Regions from separate parts of the Homo sapiens genome. Here all the other regions are linked to region 1. The links are contacts of gene promoters, found by promoter capture Hi-C in blood cells and fetal thymus (Javierre and others, 2016). All regions are on one chromosome and are shown on one strand. Each heading gives the region's core, a stretch centred on a gene start or on the middle of the fragment in contact. The rest is flanking DNA. Distances are from core to core; before and after follow the strand shown.

Region 1 (2,707 bases), core at 62-2,561:
GTGGTGGCACGTGCCTGCAATCCCAGCTACTCGGGAGGCTGAGGCAGGAGAATTGCTTGAACCTGGGAGGCGGAGGTTGCAGTGAGCTGAGATCGTGCCACTGCACTCCAGCTTTGGGTGACAGCAAGACTCCGTCTTGGGAAAACAAAAACAAAGAAAAAAGAAAAGCCCACCACCACCACCATGCCCGGCTAATTTTTGTATTTTTAGTAGAGACGGAGTTTCACTGTGTTGGCCAGGCTGGTCTGGAACTCCTGACCTTGTGATCCACCCGCCTCGGTCCCCCAAGGTGTTGGCATTACAGGCGTGAGCCACCGCGCCCGGCCTCATAATGAATTATTTAAGACAATATATCAGGATTTCATGATGGTCTGTGCCTTTCAGAAGCTCGGCCATTGGAGATCTGGTTCCATCAGATGGAAATAGGGAATATTCCTGAGGAAATCTCCCCTCTCCCCCCCAACATCATATCAATAAAAAAAAAAATTCGGTTCAGCAAACCGAGTTTGTTGAAAAAATTTAGGTAATGAAACGAGTAAATGGGGTGGGAGAAAGCAGGATACATTCAACATGAATGAAGTGCCAAGTAAGTGTGCAGAAGCCGGGGCGGTTCAACCAAGGTGAATAGAATGCGGCACCTATCCCGCGGGAGCTCGGGACAAGTAAACCGTGGTAACAACTCTGGTGGAGGGGCAGGGCTCGGGGCAGGTGCCCGAGCACGAAACTTCAAATTCTAAGAGCCAATACACCTTCCGTCTTGAAAGTCGTGAAGTATTTTCCCTTATCCCCAAATCATTCGCGCCCAATTCCTAAGAACGGCAACAAAAACAAAAACACAAGAATGTGTCGCCGATCGTGCTCCTTCTCAAACACGGGGATATTTCTAAACTTTCCGCGAAAGATCATAACGAGTACCTTCCTATAGCCAGACATCGCCCCCAGAAACCGCAAGTCCCACTAGGATGCACACGAAGCACACTGGGTGCAGCACTCTCCCCTTTTCAGAACGCCGCCTTATGTCCCAATCCCGATCCGAGCCTGCGAGCTGTGGCCGCACGCCCTGCTGGGACTTGTAGTCCACTCCCGAGTCCCATTCCCGATCCGCGCAGACTCACACGGCCTCTATCTGCCCTTCGGTCTTGCTGAAGCCCAGCCCAGTATTCAATGCTCCCCATCCCCATCTCGCTCCGTCCCCTCGGGGGCCAACCTCCTCCGGTCACGTGGGAAGTCTCACATGCGGCGATTGGTCGTGGGGGCTCGGGGGCGGGGCGAAAGGCCCTGCGAGATTCTGTGCCCCTTGTCGGGCCGCTTGTTTGGCTGCTGCCGTCACCTCATGGCGACGCGGGTAGAGGAGGCAGCGCGGGGAAGAGGCGGCGGCGCCGAAGAGGCGACTGAGGCCGGACGGGGCGGACGGCGACGCAGCCCGCGGCAGAAGGTCAGTCAGGGGGACGCCCTCGTTGTTGTCGGGCCCGGGGGATGTTTGGGCTCCCTTTTTCAGGGTCCACCTCTTCTCTCTCCCTGGTTACCTATAGCCACGGGACGAACATCCGGTCTTCTTCCCTCCCGGGGGTGACGACAGTGGGAGCAGGTGGGGGGGGGTGGGACCGCGATGGATGGGGTGGGAAGGGACGACGGTTGGGGTTTGGCGGCGCGCGGCGGGGAAGCCGGGAGGGAGGGCAGGGGGCGCACGCGGTTCTAAGGGAGAAGGGGTGCGAGGCGGGGGTGCGCCAGGTGTGACAGCCACGTGCGGCCAGCACCGCGGGGATCCGGGCGCCAGGCGTTCCTTCTCCCAGTCACCGCCGTCACCGTGCTCCCGGCGCTGAGCGCCGCCGTCCGGGGGCTCGCTGGGGTCGTGGGCTCGCCCTCCTGGCGTCGGGCAGGTGCGCAGGGCGCGCTGCGGGGTGCCCCCGGGCTGCTCAGGCTAGGCTGTTGCGCAGTAAGATAACCGCGCGGGAGCCGGGGTGTGCTTGGCCCCCCTTCCCCCGCCCCCCTGCGCTCCCCGCCACTGCGCGGGCGGGCAGGCGAGCGGGTGAGTGTCGCAGGGCCGGTGCGAGCGGGACGCTCGGCCCCCGGGACCTAGACCCCGGGGCTCCGAGGGCTTGGCTGCACGTGGGGCCGGGGATGGATGGGGAGGCGATGCTGGAGGACCTCGGTCCTGCAGAGTTGGGATATCGCATGATAGCTGGTCCTCCCAGTCCTATTTACCACCCTCCTCTTTTTTCCCCTCTTTTTTTTCTTTCATTTATTATTTTTTTAATTTGATGAGTGGAAACTTGAATGCCTTCCCGACCCTGGCCTTGGGTCTTTCTTAATCTGGGAAACAGGCCGGACTGTTCCCCTTGCCTTACTTGACTCACGTCAAGGAGTTTTCAGTCCCTCCCTAGATACAGGAAAATTGAGACCTCTTTCAGAACGGGACAATTCCACTTGTTCTGGAGCTCAGTGGGTGGAGTTTGAAAAAGATTGCACAACGAACGGGGTACAGGGTTTTCGGGGCCCTGGAATGGATAATTGCGGGGACTGAGACTGGGAAGGTGGGAACCCCATCTCTTTTTTTCCTTGCAGGTGAACATACTGAAACGTTCGACTTGTTGGATATCTTGCTTGATCACCGAGGGCTATTTAATATTACTTAATTATGTATTTGAACACTCTTAACTCCTGTATGAAATTACGAAATAATATTTTTCTAATGCAATTCATAAAC
Region 2 (2,707 bases), core at 143-2,642, 950 kb after region 1:
GAGCAAAAAGAACATAGACCAGCCTGTCCAACATGGTGAAACCCGTCTCTACTAAAAATACAAAAATTAGCTGGGCATGGTGGCAGACGCCTGTAATCCCAGCTACTCTGGAGGCTGAGGCAGGAGAATCGCTTGAACCCAGGAGGCAGAGGTTGCAGTGAGCCGAGATCACACCGCTACACTCCAGCCTGGGCAACAAGAGCAAAACTCCGTCTCAAACAAAAACAAAAACAAAAAAAAAACATATACTATATCTATAATGGGCTTTAATCTAGCTTCGTATTTGAGAGGAAAAATGATACATTTCCAACGTCCAGTATACTTTCTTTGTAGCTCCTCTCTGGGCCAAGAAAAGATGTATAGCTTTACTTTGAAATATCTGCCTGCTTTGCTTCTGATAATTACTCAGACTGTGTCTCCTTCCCAAGATGAGCAGCCTCGATATAAGTATGTAAGACTATATGCCACTAGATGATGTCACATAGCCTTTATTACAATAGCAAAATTCTATGCCAGGTACTGTTCTAAGTGCTTTGCATACATTAACTCATGTAGTCCCCATATTATACCCATTTTACAGATGGGGAAACCGAAGCACAAAGCGGTTACTTGGCTTGCCTAAGGCCATAGGAGGACTGTGTTGGAGCTGGGGGTCCAATCCAGTAAATCTGCCTTCAAGGTCTGCGTTAGTTCCCCAGTCCAACTTGTGGGTGCTGGAGACTGGAAATATCTTGCCCGCCCCCCACCCTGGCCCCCCTCGCCCTTCCTACCAGACCTGGCTCAGGGCAACTGCTAAGGCCCCGCCCCTCTCCTCATTCCAAGTCAATCACTGGCGTGCGTCCAGGAAACCCAGTTTACGACGACGTCTCTGGTGCGTCACAGAGCGCGGGGGAGGGGCGGGATCACATTAAAAAAAAAAAAAAGCTTCGGACACCCCAACAACGAAGGGGGGACACCACGTCCCTAACTACAACGCCACTAGAAGGGTTGCGCATGCGCGCCAGCCTCCTGCGCAGCCGCAGAAACCACTCAGCGCGCGAGTCTCTGAAAGGCCTAACGTCCATTTTCAATCCTGCGGGTCTTGCGAAGGAAAACCTGAGGTAAGAGGCCCCGCCCCACAGCCATCTCCTCAGCAAATTCCCGCCCTCGGCCCCGCCCCACAGCTATCTCCTCAGCAAATTCCCGCCCTCGGCCCCGCCCCACAGCCATCTCCTTAGCAAATTCCCGCCCTCACCCAAGGACTGGGAGAGCACCCGCGGATTGGCCGATCAACGGTGACGCCTGTCAGTGGCCAGACTCCGATTGGTCAGCGGGTAGTCCCGCCCCCCCCCCCCCCCCCCCCCCCCCCAACCGCGAGTGTGGGAATTCGGCGTCGCGGGAGCTCTCTGATCCACTCAGGGGTCAGGGCATCACTGGTCTCGCGTGCGCGTGACCAGGCCCGGTTTCCGGTGCCAGGACCTTTCCGAAGCGTCGAGTGGCCTAACGGTCACAGCTGTCGCCCATCGGAGAGGCAGGACTACTGCGAGCAGTTTTACCGCGACCTCCGGAGGCCGGCGTGACAGGCTCTGTCACTAAAATAGGTCTGTCCAGTCGTACTTTTTCCTCACCTTGAACTTTCCGTCACGGGAATACACGATTTGGCTTAGGGGCCGGGGCTCTCCTGAGGAGAGAGGGTTTGCTTTGCGGGGAAGAGCGAGTCTTGACTTCGCAGCCTCCAATTTCAGCCGCGGTGTGGAGGGGGGTGCTTTGGGTGGTCCCCACAGCCTTTCCGGAGTGCCCGCGCGTGTAAGCTTTTGAGATTTGACAATTTGTGAAGTGCTTGGTGCTGACTTTCGGGGACGACAGGATCCTTTTACAGTCATTCTCCTGTCAGGGGAGGCAGGTGGGGAGCGAGGAAGGATCCAGATTTCGTTAACAGAGCTTTGAGTTTAAAGAATTGACAAACTCCCGAGTTGATTTCCTGTCAGACCTTTTGCGGTTGAGACATAGAGTCTGAGGCTTTGATGGTAACCGCGTTTGATTTAGAGACAGACTGTGCAGCTTCGCTGTTTTATTGTAAATACGTAAATGAGGAGGAAGAGAAAAACGTAGGGTGTTGGGAGCAGAGGCGGGAGGCGGGAGATCCTGCGAAATCGGAGTCCCTTTGGAGTGGGGGAGGCCGTCGAGGCGTGCGAGGGCCCGGCCCCCTTGCCGCGTGGTCGTTAACAGGAAAGGCCCTGATTTGGTTGGTGGCGGATCGCGTCCCTCCCTCCTCTCCCCGGCTCTCCCCGAGTGCGGCAAACTGGCTTCAGGTTGACTAAAAGATAGCGATTTTCCAAGCAGCTTTGCCGCGCGGTGTTTTCTAAAGCGGGGCGTGGGCTGGGTGCCCTTTTGGGCCTCACTTGTCCGGCCTGCGGCAAGTGCTGGGCGATGGGATGCGGTTCTGGCGGCAAAGGAAGGGCTGCCTTTGAGAGTCCCGCAGGAAGGTTTAGAAAGTGATTGTTCTTAAAACAAACAGAGCGTTTTGCTGTGTGTTCCTCAAAGTGGTCCCGGTGGGAGTGGCGCCTCATTGTGAGCTGTGCCTTATCTGATGAATTAATGGCAGGTGAAAGCCTTGCGCCTCCGGAGCGAATATTTACGACTTTTGAAAATGTCTTTAATGTCTAAAAAAAGTCTTTTAGAAAATCAGACGGCCTCTTGTTCTTATGTTATCAAGAGTTTAGATTTC
Region 3 (2,707 bases), core at 154-2,653, 940 kb before region 1:
ATTTAAGAATCATCTTTAGTACCAGTGGCATGTTAAGACAGCCAAACATTAAAAAATGGATAACGGGCCAATTTCTGGGCTTTACCCCCAAATCTAATTATGTATTCATACAACCAAACACCAAAAGGAATAAACATGAAGTTTGGTCTAGAAATGTCAAAACTAATCCTTTATTTACCAAGTAATGAAGTAAAATAAAAAAGATATCTTTATTATCTAATCACAATATCTGCTAATATTTTAGCAACTATTATTTGAATGTACATTTAATGTTACATTTTTATTACTAACTGTAATATGCTAACAGAAAATCTGTATCCACTGACCCTCTTCCCTATTTGGCTATAAAATGAAGGACTACCTTAAACTATGTGTTTATACAAATTGGGTAAGAGAAATTTTTTTTTAATTTTTCTGAAGAAAATAAGCATTCTTAAGGATAGAAATGTATATTTCACAAATTAAAAAAAAATCAAAATCATTGAGATGTGTATACACCTTTAAGCCAACAGATAAGTACATGATAAGTTCAAAGTCATCTTTGGTGCTTAGAAATAATCAATTCAAGTAAAAGACCTGACACTAAACAGAAAAATAATGACACATGAAAAAGTAGATTAAAATTGACCAATTAGGACTTCTACTACAAATGTAAGTCTGAATTTAGATCTTCACAGCTATATTTACAATTTTGGAAGCAAAATCATTTCATGAAATTGATTAAGTGAATGCTATACCCCAAACTATAAGACCAAAAAAGTTATTATAAATCCAGGCATTTTGATCAATCCAACAAGAAATAGGTTGAAAAATATTATTTATATCTACATATCCAATAAAAAATTCCAACTGCTGATAATCTGGACAATAAAAATTTGCAGTCTAAGAAGTCAAAGATGGCACTGTCTTAGGAAATCTACTCTTTTCCACACAGAAAAACCTCTGGGAGAATTATGAATTTCTCACTATATGACTGAGAAACAAAGAAGTTCATATCTAAAACAGAACGTTTAAAATATATATACCAAGACAATACATAACTGGGGTTAGGGGAAGTGCACAGTGGTTAAGATTTTACACAGCTGTGAAGCCTAGTAGATCTGGGTTTAGAATCCTGGTTTTGCCAGTTGCTAACCAGGTGGCCTCAGACCAGTCATGGAACCTCACTGAGATTCCACTTTCTCATTAGGCTACCTCTAACCTTTCACAGGGTGTCTTGAGGATTAGCACAGGATGCTTAAAGCAAACTGCTGAGCCCAGGGCCTCACATACAAGCACTCAAGCGTTAGTTACCATCATAATTATTTTTGTTGTCATGGTATCCAAAACAAAAAGTTTTCCAGCAGTTTGTGGAGTGCTTTTTCTCTTATTCCACTTGCTATTTTATGAACATAATATTCAAATACTCTCCCACAGATGTAAACTTGTATCATGCATCAAAAATATAAATGAATCTATTTTTAGGAAACATGCATCTTGCCATTCCTGCATTTCTTCTCAGAGTATGTTGATGAAGAGAACAGAATAACCTGAAGCCTTACTGCTCCACACAGACTTGAGCTTGGCTTCATAATGGCCTTAACCTACGATGTATTCTCACTCTAAATTCAGAATGGACCACCACCTACTGCTTCCCCAAGACCTACATGGCTAAGAAAAATGGTTCACTCAGACTGCTAAATAGACAATGTCTCAATGTGGTACTCAGTTTCGTTTGTGTACAAAGCAATGTAAAAGTAGTCATAGAAGAGAAACAGGACCACAGCTTTCTTCTAAAGACAAGGAACTGTAATTAACAGTACTCATTTCTTTATTTTAAACAAAGGTTACAAGGGGGTAAGGAAAATTTTACATGGGACCAACCATACTCATCCTATGCTTTTCTCTTTGCACTTACTTTCCCCAATTAAAGACATAAAAATAGGCTGGATGCGGTGGCTTACGCCTGTAATCCCAGCACTTTGGGAGGCCGAGGTGGGTGGATCACCTGTCAGGAGTTTGAGACCATCCTGGCCAACATGGTGAAAGCCTGTCTTTACTAAAAATACAAAAATTAGCTGGGCATGGTGGTGTGCACCTGTAGTCCCAGCTACTTGGGAGGCTGAGGCAGGAGGATTGCTTGAACACAGGAAGCGGAGGTTGCAGAGAGCCGAAATTGCACCACTGCACTCCAGCCTGGGTGATAAGCGAAACTCCATCTCAAAAAAAAAAAAAAAAAGACATAAAAATAGTACTTCAAACAGAAGGACAATATTAACTATTAAAATACTCCCATAGGGGAATATATATACATATGTACATATACACACACAAATAAATGTGGATCTGCAATAATGTTCTTATCCCCTAGTACATTAAATACTGAATATATGCTCTAAGGTAAACTTAACATTGCTGTCATATTCTAAGGCCCATAGCAATTTCCCAGTAGCATTTAAAAATCCAGGCACAGCTGGGTGCAGTGGCTTACACCTTTAATCCCAGCACTTTGGGAGGCCAAGGGGGACGGATCATTTGAGGTCAGGAGTTCGAGACCAGCCTGACCAACATGGTGAAACCCTGTCTCTACTAAAAGTACAAAACTAGCCAGGCATGGTAGTGCAAGCCTGTAATCCCAGCTACTCGGGAGGCTGAGGCAGGAGAATCGCTTGAGCCCGGGAGGCAGAGGTTGCAGTGAGCCAAGATCGTGTCATTGCACTCCAGCCTG
Region 4 (2,707 bases), core at 144-2,643, 920 kb before region 1:
GGTGTGAGATGGTATCTCATTGTGGTTTTGATTTGCATTTCTCTGATGGCCAGTGATGATGAGCATTTTTTCATGTGTCTGTTGGCTGCATAGATGTCTTCTTTTGAGAAGTGTCTGTTCATATCCTTTGCCCACTTTTTGATGGGGTTGTTTGTTTTTTTCTTGTAAATTTGTTTGAGTTCTTCCTAGATTCTGGATATTAGCCCTTTGTCAGATGAGTAAATTGCAAAAATTTTCTCCCATTCTGTAGGTTGCCTGTTCACTCTGATGGTAGTTTCTTTTGCTATGCAGAAGCTCTTTAGTTTAATTAGATCCCATTTGTCAATTTTGGCTTTTGTTGCCATTGCTTTTGGTGTTTTAGACATGAAGTCCTTGCCCATGCCTATGTCCTGAATGGTATTGCCTAGGTTTTCTTCTAAGGTTTTTATGGGTTTAGGTCTAACATTTAAGTCTTTAGTCCATCTTGAATTAATTTTTGTATAAGGTGTGAGGAAGGGATCCAGTTTCAGCTTTCTACATATGGCTAGCCAGTTTTCCCAGCTATAATATTCTAAGGCAGAAACTGAAGTGCTTAGGGAAACTCGAAGGTTGCATCATAAAAGTCAGATGCTTACTTGATGAAAATCACTACCTTAAAAATATTTCCCAACTACTCATGGCAAGTAGGAGTCACCTCTGAAATACTTTGTCAGCAATTAAAGACATGGGGTAGAAAGGAAGAAGTCCAGAGGGAACAGCTAGACAGAATCAATGTGTCCCAGGGGTAAGGCAGAGACCAGAGACCGCTAAGTAGTAATCAAAACCTGCCCGTTCTCTTCCTTAGCACACAGCTAGACCTCATTCCGCTGCTTCCTCTGTAGTTAGGTGTGCCCATGGAGCTGAGATCTGGCCAATGAAATAGGAATAAAAGTGACAGGTCTAGCCTATAAAAAGCTCCCACAGGAAAGTCTGTTTCCTTCTTCCCTCCTTCCCTCCCCAGACCTGCTTTTGCCACTTGGATGATGACACCCAGGTATCCTGCCAGCCTGAGTTCCTGAATGACTGCAAGGAAGAGACGTACACAAACCACTACCACCATCATCACTCCTATTGTACTTGAAATGAATGAGAAATAACTTTGTATTAAGCCACTGATTTTTTTTCCCAGGTTCATTTGTTACAGCTGCAAGCATTCCTGTTCATTCTTGAAAGCTTGTTGCATACTTAGTTACAAAGAGAAGGAGCCATGCATAGTGATGGGAAGAGCAAGTGAATTTTCAAGTGGATACTTGATTCTAATCCTGCTTTTTGTGCTCTTTTATATGTCTCCCTTCCATTGAAATTTGAGAAGAATTGTTAAACAGTCTGAGCACAGAATTTTAAACTACTTGTCTATCAAAGAGGGCAAAAAGAATGATTTAAGGCTCTTTTTTACATTCCTCTGACAAAGCCTAGCATTAATACTAGGCAATAGAAAAGGCAAAATTTAAAAAATCGTAAGGCTGAAAGGGCTGAGGAAGTGAAGTGGGGTGGTGGGCAAGCACATTTGGGTAAACTGTCCCTAATTGGCAAAAGTGAATACAGTATTATCATCAACCTCTTAGAATCAAAAAACCAAAGCTTGAGATTTATTTTTGACTCTATTATATCCTTGTCTTCTAAATACTATACAAAAAGCTAAGTTAAAATATTTATCCTAAAGCACTATTTAGAATACAGGAACATTTTAATTAGATAATTTGATGAAAAATTTTAGAAATACTGTACACATTTTAAATATAACACATATATAAGATAATAGAATTTTAAAGGTAATTTTATTCAAGAATTTTATTTTACAAGTGAAGAATGAAGTCCAGAGAAGTTAAGCAAATTGTTCAAGATCATACCAGTTAGTGGCAAGTGGAGAAGTAAGACTCCTATGTTCTGTCTCCAGGCAATGTTCTTGCCACCACAGGACACTGTCTATTGCCCAGAAACTACTAGCCCATTATCTTTAGGCAAAAACAAACAAATAAATAAATAAACTGAAAAACCTTACCCTTGAAATGTAAACTCTTCAATTCTACTTCCTTTTGCCTTTCTGTCCAGTATTAAAGTATTTATGTCTTTACTAGCTGACTGAAATCCTTGCAATCTCCAAAACTGGGATAATATCTTAATAACTGCTTTATGGCATAACCTAATGCAATGCTTTGCATAGAGTAAGTACTCTAAAATGTTAATTAAGTTGAATTGTGGTGCCAAAAGAAGGTTTAGGCTGAGGGCAATGGCTCACGCCTATAATCCCAGCACTTTGGGATGCCGAGGCAGGCGGATCACCTGAGGTCAGAAGTTCGAGACCAGCCTGGCCAACATGGTGAAACCCTGTCTCTACTATAAAAACACACACACAAAAAATTAGCTAGGCGTGATGCTGCATGCTTGTAATCTCAGCTACACAGGAGGCTGAGGCAGGGGAATCACTTGAACCCAGGAGTTGGAGGTTGCAGTGAGCCGAGACCGCACCACTGCACTCCAGCCTGTGCAACAAGAATGAAACTCCTTCCCCACCCCCCCCAAAAAAAAGGTTTAATTGGGCCCTGTCTCATTACTTCTTGAGTGTATCAGTTTTTCTGGAGTATTCTCCTTCTTTCCATCCCCATTAATATTGCACTAGGTCAGACTAACAAACTGGACTTTATATCTCAGCTCATTCTCTCCACCTGATTCCATTATGGTTCTTTCT

Evidence for each region. The method cuts DNA at HindIII sites, captures the fragments that hold promoters and counts their contacts. A CHiCAGO score of 5 or more calls a contact.
Region 2: the fragment with the promoter of SCML1 here is called in contact with the fragment with the promoter of TXLNG in region 1 in 1 of 17 cell types (total B cells); the score reaches 8.1 in total B cells.
Region 3: a fragment that was not itself captured here is called in contact with the fragment with the promoter of TXLNG in region 1 in 2 of 17 cell types (activated CD4 T cells and naive CD8 T cells); the score reaches 7.3 in activated CD4 T cells.
Region 4: a fragment that was not itself captured here is called in contact with the fragment with the promoter of TXLNG in region 1 in 1 of 17 cell types (naive CD8 T cells); the score reaches 6.8 in naive CD8 T cells.

What each region holds. Positions count from the first base shown.
Region 1 is chrX:16,785,155-16,787,861 of GRCh38, forward strand. It overlaps TXLNG (taxilin gamma), which reads left to right and starts at 1,312. Exons shown (of 10, transcript NM_018360.3): 1 at 1,312-1,435. The coding sequence starts at 1,334. It overlaps LOC124905250 (a long non-coding RNA gene), which reads right to left and starts at 1,112. Exons shown (of 2, transcript XR_007068398.1): 1 at 916-1,112; 2 at 506-809. RefSeq lists enhancers at 708-907, 879-1,611 and a silencer at 1,658-2,097. The HindIII fragment of the contact is 8,203 bases long and covers 1-2,707 here.
Region 2 is chrX:17,736,101-17,738,807 of GRCh38, forward strand. It overlaps SCML1 (Scm polycomb group protein like 1), which reads left to right and starts at 1,393. Exons shown (of 8, transcript NM_001037540.3): 1 at 1,393-1,580. The HindIII fragment of the contact is 866 bases long and covers 923-1,788 here.
Region 3 is chrX:15,840,824-15,843,530 of GRCh38, forward strand. All of the region lies in intron 4 of AP1S2 (adaptor related protein complex 1 subunit sigma 2), which reads right to left. Among named protein-coding and RNA genes, the nearest start is that of AP1S2, 13 kb to the right of the region's middle. The HindIII fragment of the contact is 4,648 bases long and covers 1-2,707 here.
Region 4 is chrX:15,860,497-15,863,203 of GRCh38, forward strand. No RefSeq gene overlaps it. Among named protein-coding and RNA genes, the nearest start is that of AP1S2, 7.0 kb to the left of the region's middle. The HindIII fragment of the contact is 408 bases long and covers 1,190-1,597 here.